Regions from separate parts of the Homo sapiens genome. Here region 1 is linked to region 2. Evidence: promoter capture Hi-C in human tissues and cell types (Jung and others, 2019). All regions are on one chromosome and are shown on one strand. The core of a region is centred on a gene start or on the middle of the fragment in contact, and the rest is flanking DNA. Distances in the headings are between cores, read along the strand shown. Region 1 overlaps FRMD5 (FERM domain containing 5). Region 2 holds the start of HYPK (huntingtin interacting protein K).

The links. The method cuts DNA at HindIII sites, captures the fragments that hold promoters and counts their contacts. A contact is called where the count stands out against the background at its distance.
Region 1: a contact is called between a fragment that was not itself captured here and the fragment with the promoter of HYPK in region 2, in 2 of the 25 tissues and cell types used here (dorsolateral prefrontal cortex and hippocampus).

What each region holds. Positions count from the first base shown.
Region 1 is chr15:44,126,034-44,130,421 of GRCh38, forward strand. The region is part of intron 1 of FRMD5 (FERM domain containing 5); the gene reads right to left. Among named protein-coding and RNA genes, the nearest start is that of FRMD5, 67 kb to the right of the region's middle. The HindIII fragment of the contact is 3,050 bases long and covers 992-4,041 here.
Region 2 is chr15:43,799,349-43,803,794 of GRCh38, forward strand. It overlaps HYPK (huntingtin interacting protein K), which reads left to right and starts at 1,251. Exons shown (of 4, transcript NM_016400.4): 1 at 1,251-1,436; 2 at 1,784-1,839; 3 at 2,170-2,221; 4 at 2,363-4,446. The coding sequence starts at 1,275. The coding sequence ends at 2,458. It overlaps SERINC4 (serine incorporator 4), which reads right to left and starts at 872. Exons shown (of 12, transcript NM_001258031.2): 1 at 537-872; 2 at 1-138. The coding sequence starts at 638. SERF2-C15ORF63 (SERF2-C15orf63 readthrough) reads left to right here. Exons shown (of 6, transcript NR_037673.1): 3 at 1,147-1,436; 4 at 1,784-1,839; 5 at 2,170-2,221; 6 at 2,363-3,241. RefSeq lists enhancers at 1-669, 670-1,370, 1,278-1,527. The HindIII fragment of the contact is 6,811 bases long and covers 1-4,446 here.

The DNA.
Region 1 (4,388 bases), core at 1,267-3,766, 330 kb after region 2:
TATCAAAAAAACCAATATAAGTGAAGTCAGCTACTGCAATGATTCTGCTGGACAAACACCAAAGTCTCATTAAAAATTCACCTCTCTGAACCTCCTCCCAAGAGATAATCAGTACCAGGATCATTTTCTCCTTTTCTCTTATATATGTTACCACATTAAAATGACACAATCCAGCTTGGTGAGTAAAAAAAGATTCAAGAAATATGGCTCCAACTGACAGCTTTGAAATCCAGGCACTTCAAAGTGTTTGAGATAATGGCATTTCCCTATGACAGGTGCTACTTTCCATAGATTTAACCTTCTTCTTTGCCACAGTAATTACTTTAGATCAAACTTCATTTTTAGAAAAAGCTGAAATGCATGAACTAATACAATAAATCTTTAAAATAATCTAAGTTTGTATGTGATCTGTGTTATGCCAGTTTTAGAGACTATGGGTATCATGCAGTTCCTAATAAAATGTGAGCATCTAAAAAACACTGAGTTTCTCTTCCATCCACAATGACATGATCCTGCCATAAACCTTTGCAGAAACATCACACCATCCTCTTGACCAGGAGCCAATTCCAATCTGAGTTTCACATTCTTATTGCCACACTCCAAGGACCCTCTACTCTTCATACTCTCCCACATAGGCCCTAGACTCTTCCCTCATTAGAATTTATCTAGTCCTCATTCTCTTTACCAGCCCATTGTTCCACCCTTCCTTTTGGCTCTCATACGTTATGTTCCTCCCACTCTCAGCTGACCAATCTTCCAACCTGTCATTGCCTAAATAACTTTGGAAATTAGTCTCCTTCATAAAAACTTTCCCAAGTAACTAGAAGTAAGGGGAATAGTCCAGTCAAGAGAACGTTAAGCTAATTAAACTAATGTACTTCCCTCATACCAATCACTGGGCACTGCTACATTCATGAACTATAAATACTTTTTTAAGTACTTTGATCCTAATGAATGTTCATTCTGCAATTGGTCACTTTAAATAATAAACACCTAGAGAGGAACAATCTTTCTGTATTCTATAGAACAGAACATGTTTCATATAGTCATTTAATAAACGTTCTTTTGAAATGGAGTCTCGCTCTGTCGCCCAGGCTTGAGTGCAGTGGTGCAATATCGGCTCACTGCAGCCTCCACCTCCCAGGCTCAAGGAAGTTCACGCAATTCTCATGCCTCAGCCTCCCAAGCAGCTGAGATTACAGACATTCACCACCACACCGACTAATTCTTGTATTTTTGGTGGAGACAGGGTTTCGCCATGTTGGCCAGCCTGGTCTCAGACTCCTGACCTCAAGTGATCTGCCCGCCTTGATGTCCCAAAGTGCTGTGATTACAGGCGTAAGCCACCACACCCAGCCTAATAAATGCTTTTTTATTGTGAAGGTAGTAAGAGACTTATACCCAGATCTCAATCTGGAGTCTTCAGTGTTCATTTCAGAAACTGAAAAGCAATGACTATCCATCACCACTCCCCACTTCCATGACTACTGTACAATCTCAACTTCATTGCTCTTGGCTCTCCTTTCCCTCAATTATATTTATTAATAAAAATAACCAGGCCGGGTGCAATGGCTCACAACCCGTAATGCCAGCACTTTGGGAAACTGAAGCGAGAGGATCACTTGAGCTCAGGAGTTTGAAATCAGCCAGGGCAACATGGCGAAACCTCATCTCTACAAAAAAATACAAAAATTAGCTGGGCATGGGGCACACCTGTAGTCCCAGCTACTTGGAAGGCTGAGGTGGGAGGGCCGCTTGAGCCTGGGAGGTTGAGGCTGCAGGGAGTTGTGATCTCACCACCGCACTCCAGCCTGGGCAATAAAATGAGAGTCTGTCTCCAAAATAAATAAATAAATAACCCAGCAGATGTCGATAATATTCTAAGATAACAAACTTTTAGTAACGTGAAGGAGGCAGCTGTAGCAATCTGGCTTTTCAACATTTTCCCTTTTGCTTATGCTTCCATTTTTAATTATTTAACTTATTTAGCAGCTATGCCAAGAGAGAGGAAGGTAAAATTTCGCCCCCACCGTACAGACAGAATCATGGCAGTTACATTTCAATGAAGCTTCTGAGAAAAAAAGCAATCTTCAAAAAATGCCCAAAAGAGCAACTATTTTTATATCCATACTATTTAGCACTCATGAGTTAAGAAATTAAGTTTCACTGGGCACAGGGGCTCAGGCCTGTAATCTCAGCACTTTGGGAGGCCGAGGCGGGTGGATCACATGAGGTCAGGAGTTCAAGACCAGCCTGGCCAACATGGCGAAACCCTGTCTCTACCAGAAATACAAAAATTAGCTGGGCGTGGTGGCGCAGGCCTGTAATCCCAGCTGCTGGGGAGACTGAGGCAGAATCACTTGAACCTGGGAGGCAGAGGTTGCAGTGAGTCGAGATCATGCCATTGCACTCCAGCCTGGGTGACAAGAGCAAAATTCCATCTCAAAAAAATAAATAAATAAAAATAAATTAAGTTTCACAAAGTAGTATCATTGAGAAAGAAATGGGATTATGAAGCTGATTAAGATATATGGTAGGCATACATCACTAGGATTTCAATATTGGCATTCATCATTGAGTAGGTTAGGGTATTCCTAGATATGTGCTTACCTAAGCAAACTGGTACCATTATTCAAAAATAAAATAGTCATACAGTAAATAATATGACTACTTTCAGGAGCTCTTCTACCATCCCCTCAACATCATTCTTCCTTTAAACTGAAGATGATAGGAATCAGAAGGAATTAAGACTGAATTTTTAAGATTTGAACAAGGATAGAAATAGGGAAATTAAAGGAGCTAAAAAAAAGAAAAAGAAAAAAAAACAACACAGAATGATGTGGTACGAAGTCCCTAAGCATGAGTGGGGAGAGAAGGCATATATAATGAGTTACTTTTGGAGAAGGTAGGCAGTGTTAACCAAACAGCAGCTAGGAGTACAACATTAGTGGAGGTCTGAAGCTCTTTACACAGTCAACAGCACTGGGCATAAAACATTTCCACATTATAAAATCTCAGGCAAGTCCTACTTTGAAAGAGATAATACAAAAACTGAGACTACAGGCTAACCTTAATCCAAATAGCCCTTAAGGATCAATGTCAATTATATTGGAAACATGTACAGAAAGCTCTTATGATTCCCCAATCTAAAATGAAAAAAAAAATCCCTTGCTTACATGCTATTTTTTAAAGTCAATTCAAGAAACTCCATCTAGTAAAAAATAATTTTGTCTCTAAAGCCAAAACCCAACTTTTGTATACTTAGTAAACATTTCATAAACCTAAAACCTGACCATTTTGATTATAAGTCAGATTCTAGAATTGCAAGAAGCATTGTCCCAAAAATGTAATAAGCAAAGGAATCACAGACTTTATCCCAGGGCTATGGAACTGTAACAACTTTGTCCTGTTTCTGAAGAATCCAGTGAGGAGTGATGGCAATTCCTCTGATTATGTCTTTATCCTGTCATCTATATCTCAGAGGCACTTTTTTTTTAATTTAAAATAAACAAAAAGTTAAAGTAATCCTTAGAGGTTCTCTGCAGTCCCCAGATATTAGAACTCAGTTTCTGCTTCAATATCCCATTAACTCCAAACTAGGAAAGACAGCTTAAAGTCATTTCCAAGGGCATCAAGAGATACTGTAGGATAGGCTTTTAGAGTGAAGCTTCTAACAGCCGTCCACATCACAAAAATGACCTAACTAGAGCCCAAAACAGAAGGAAGAGCCTTTTCCTCTCCAATTTTCACAGTCATTTTGTTTCTTCCAACAGAAAAGTCATTCTAGATGCTTTCACTTGCAGCAGTTCCTCAGGTTAGTAACTAGGACCCTTCCCATGATTGACTTCTGGCAAGGAACAAATGAGCCCCAGGCAAAGCACATGGGTCAGCAAACTTTTATAACCACTGTTTCCCAGAGAACATCAGCTTGGGGAAGGCCAACCAAGGACCTCAATGTCCACATTTACAATGTCAACTCTCCCTAACTCAGTGTCCTCTTCCTTCTCTTAAAAGATGCTGGGATGGTTTGCACCTTGCTTGGTGATTCCTGTGGTCAATGGCGCTCCCTCCAGGTGGGCTGCACTAATACTATAACCACCCTCTCCCCTCTAAACCCATCATGCTTCAGCAGGTTGCTAACACTCGTCACCATTATCACATCTATTACCCTGTGCAAGGTGAGGACCATGAGAGACTGACATCCCCGCCAATCCTTGGAGGCAAGAGGATTCGCCCACTAGTCTGGGACAGCTCTGCCTCGCCTTCATGGCCTTTTTCCCCACGGTGGCAAAGTCTATTAGATTCCTTCCCCAGGACCCTGATGGCATTCCTTTCCAACTCTTTTTCCAAAGATTACACTTCAGTTCTACTATTCCAGGGAACTTCCA
Region 2 (4,446 bases), core at 1-2,500:
TGACAGCAGGAGGCAGCAGATTGCTGAGGCCCCCACATGGAGGAGGATGTAGAACAGGCGGCTGCAAGTGGATGCGGTGAGAGAGGGCCACCTAGAGTGGCAGCAGCTGGCACAAGGAGCAGGCCCACAGCAGCACACCTGGGAGTAGAGCAGATGCAAGGCAGCGAGGTGGAGACTTGCTGAGGAAAGGCATACGTTAATGTATGTGTGAGGTTAACCCAGGAGGTTGAATTCCAAAATTTCCCCTTCCCCTTTCTTCCTTTTACTCAGGTTCTGTTTCAAGCTGATTCCAGCCATTTGGGATTGCCGCCCACTGACAACTTAGTAGGGCTTTCATTATAAGCAGGCTTGAGATATCTGACCTTTCTCTCGACCTAAACACCTGGGGCTGGAAACATGGCGGGAGAGATTTACAGATTATACCTGGGGCAACGAACCAGAACGACATTAGAGGAGAAAAGAGGCCTGTCGTTTTTATTGGCTTCTGCACGTCTTCCTCCCCAGCTTCGGCCACTCTCCCCTTCGCACCCTCTCACCTGACAGAAGGGACTTTTCACTAGGACACTGCTGCCTCCGCTGTGCTGCTGTGCCAGGCCCAGGGAGGTGCCGGGGCTGGGGCCGGCCTTGGCACCCACCATCCTTGTCCCAGGGATTAGGCTTAGGTCCACCAGATGGAAGGCAGATGAGAGCAGCAGTTGCTTCTGTCCTCAGCCCATTGGACTGCCACTGTGTTGGGGCTGAGCACCCGGTCCCGGGCAGAATGGAGACGTCCGGAAGAGAACACTGACCTCCAGGTTGCGGTAAATGCAAATGCCCTGTGAAGGAGCTTTGTCCTTAGGGCCTCAACACTGCGGCCACTCAGGCTGTTCTCTCCAGATTAGGGGGCAGTTTGTCTATCTGGCCCCCTGTGGATTAGCATTCTTTATTGGTTTAGGATTAGACGTCATTCAGGTTGAACGGAGTTCCCTGAGGTGGGTGGGTGCGTGTTTATGTGTTGAGGGGACTATTCCTAGTTTATGAGGTGGTTAAGGATATCGGTGGGGTGGGCTGGAGCGGTGTCGGGTTAGGTCTGAGAGAAGGCCTCGCACAAAACACTGTACAAACCCGAAAGGAAGTCTGAGAGACGAACCGCCTTCCTCCCTGAAGCTTCTAGAACTGGAGCAGAAAGAAGGTGTGGCCCAGGGCCAGCCCCGCCTCCTCCCCGGGCGGAAGCTGTGTCAGTTGCCGGAAGTCGGCGTGAGGTGGGGCTTATGCGGCGGCGTGGTGAAATAGATATGGCGACCGAGGGGGATGTGGAGCTGGAGTTGGAGACTGAGACCAGTGGACCAGAGCGGCCTCCGGAGAAGCCACGGAAACATGACAGCGGTGCGGCGGACTTGGAGCGGGTCACCGACTATGCAGAGGAGAAGGAGATCCAGAGTTCCAATCTGGAGACGGTAAGGTTGGCCAAGAGCATGTCGGGGCGGGCTGAGAGCAGAGGGGGGCTCTGAGGCTGTAGCTGGAAGCCAGCGCTCCAAGACGGGGTTCTGATCCCGTTGGCAGGAGGAGGCAATAGGGTAGAGCCGAGGGAAACAGCGGTCACCGGAGCGCGCCGCTTGCCTAAAGGAGCTTGATAGTGGGCTTAAGGGGACCTCAGGTGCATAGAATGGAATTAAACATAGTCCTTGCTACCTGGTAACACTTGTCATCGTGAATCCATGCATGAACCGCTTGTTTTGTTGGCCTTTTAGATTATTGGGAATTGTGGGTAGCGGTGCAGTAACTAGACCTGCCTTTCCCATAGGCCATGTCTGTGATTGGAGACAGAAGGTCCCGGGAGCAGAAAGCCAAACAGGAGCGGTAAGTCTTCAGGGGCAGCCAACTTTAACAGTTCTTCCCTCCCCGGTCCCCAGACAAAAATAAAAACCATTATTAAGCCTTTATACCGTTCTTCAAATTTATCACCAATTCCTGCAGATCTAGGCGCCACAACTTTACTCTTGTTAGCAGAAGGCCTCCTGGCAACACCTGCTGCCAAGACTCCAGGGGAAAGGAGTATTAGTGGGAGTTTTTATTTTCAATCAAGGGTTTATCAAGATTTATTTACAGGGCACTTCTGGGAATGACCCTTCCTGGGAGTTTATGGTGTTGGTTGAGAATGAGGACTAATATATTTAAATATTTTTGCAGGGAGAAAGAACTGGCAAAAGTCACTATCAAGAAGGAAGATCTGGAGCTAATAGTGAGTGGTAGTGCCTAACTAGTGTATGCGGAGGGGAGGCTATTCTGCTTAATTTGGGTTGTTTCCTGAAACAAGCGGAGTCAGTATATTTGGTGGCACATTAATGCCTGGGAACCTATGTAACATGATTTTTTTCTGCAGATGACTGAGATGGAGATATCTCGAGCAGCAGCAGAACGCAGTTTGCGGGAACACATGGGCAACGTGGTAGAGGCGCTTATTGCCCTAACCAACTGATGCGTGCTTTCTCAAATATACCTACTGGATTAATTTATGGCAATAAAATTTTTTTTTGTCTTTTTCAGTTTTATCATCTTGGGTCAAGTAGAGTGTATACTATATCCTATGTTGTGGAGAATTTATATGTTGGAGACTAACTGAATTTAAGTGACCCATTAAAATCTAGCACACCTGTATGAAAAATCAGTGTAGAAGAATACCTCATGTGCAGATGCTAGGTGGCAGGCCAGTCTCATTCATCTGACTAGCTCTCAACAGTATTCAAGGTACATCTGGAGTCTCAGCAGAGTTACTGTACTCAAATGGCATGTGTCTCCAAGACAGCTTATGAATATCTAAAAGGCCAGCTACCTGCCTAGGAGCCACTATATATATAGATAGATGTAGGTTATGAACCCAGTTCATAGGCCACCTTGAGTTAGAATTTTGGTACCTACAACATGCTTGATTTTGAGTGATTAAAAAAAAATAATTTGGCTGGGTGCTGTGGCTCACACCTCTAATCCCAGCACTTTGGGAGGTCGAGGCAGGTAGATCACGAGGTCAGGAATTCAAGACCAGCCTGGCCAACATGTGAAACCCCGTCTCCACTGAAAATAGAAAAATTAGCTGGGCATGGTGGTGGGCGCCTATAATCCCAGCTATTCTGGAGGCTGAGGCAGGAATCGCTTGAAATTGGAAAGCAGAGGTTGCAGTGAGCTGAGATCACACTACTGTACTACTGTACTCCAGCCTGGGGGAAAGAGTGAAACTCCATCTCAAAAAAAAAAAAAAAAAAAAAAGCCCGGGCACAGTGGCTCACACCTGTAATCCCAGCACTTTGGGAGGCTGAGGCAGTCGGATCATGAGGTCAGGAGTTGAAGACAAGCCTGGCCAACATGGTGAAACCCTGTCTCTACTAAAAATACAAAAAAAATAAAATTAGCCAGGCGTGGTGGTGCATGCCTGTAGTCCCAGCTACTCAGGAGGCTGAAGCAGAAGAATTGCTTGAACCAGGGAGGCGGAAGTTGCAGTGAGCTGAGATTGTGCCACTGTACTCCAGCCTGGGTGACAGAGCGAGACTGTCTCAAAAACAAAACAACAAAAAAGAATTTAGGGGCCAGGCATGGTGGCTCATGCCTGTAATCCCAACACCTTGGGAAGCTGAGGCAAGACGATCACTTGAGCCCAGCAGTTTGAGACCAGCTTGGGCAACACAGTGAGATTTCGTCTCTACCGCGCTCCCCCCACCACCAAAAAAAGAATTTAGGTACCTGAGGGTTAGAACATGGTAAGACTAGAAGATATCAAAGGTTGGGCCAGGTGTGGTGACTCATGCCTGTAACCCCAGCACTTTGGGGAGGCTGGGCTGGGAGGACTGTGTCAGGTCAGGATTTCCAGACCAGCCTGGGCAACATAGCATGACCTTGTCTCTACTAAAATTAAAAAAAAAAAAAGCCAGGCATGGTGGCATGTGCCTGTCTGTGGTCCCAGATACTCTGGAGGCTGAGATGGATTTGCTTGAGCCTGGGAGGTTGAGGCTGCAGTGAGCTGAGATTGTGCTACTGCACTCCAGCCTGGGCGACAGAGCAAGACTGTCTCAAAACGAAAAAAACCTATGAAAGGTTTTGATTGGTATTCAAATTCTAAGCCATAATACATTCTACATGCCATTTCCTATCCTAGAGAGAAGGTAATTTTACTTTAAAGGTTAATCAGGGCCGGGCGTGGTGGCGCATGCCTATAATCCCAGCACTCTGGGAGGCCGAGGCAGGTGGATCACCTGGGATCAGGAGTTTGAGACGAGCCTGGCCAAAATGGTGAAACCCCATCTCTACTAAAAGTACAAAAAAAAATTAGCTGGGTGTGGTGGTGGACGCCTGTAATTCCAGCTACTAGGGAGGCTGAGGCAGGAGAATCTCTTGAACCCAGGAGGTTGCAGTGAGCAGAGATCGCGCCACTGCACTCCAGACTGGGCAACAAGAGTGAAACTCCATCTCAAAAAA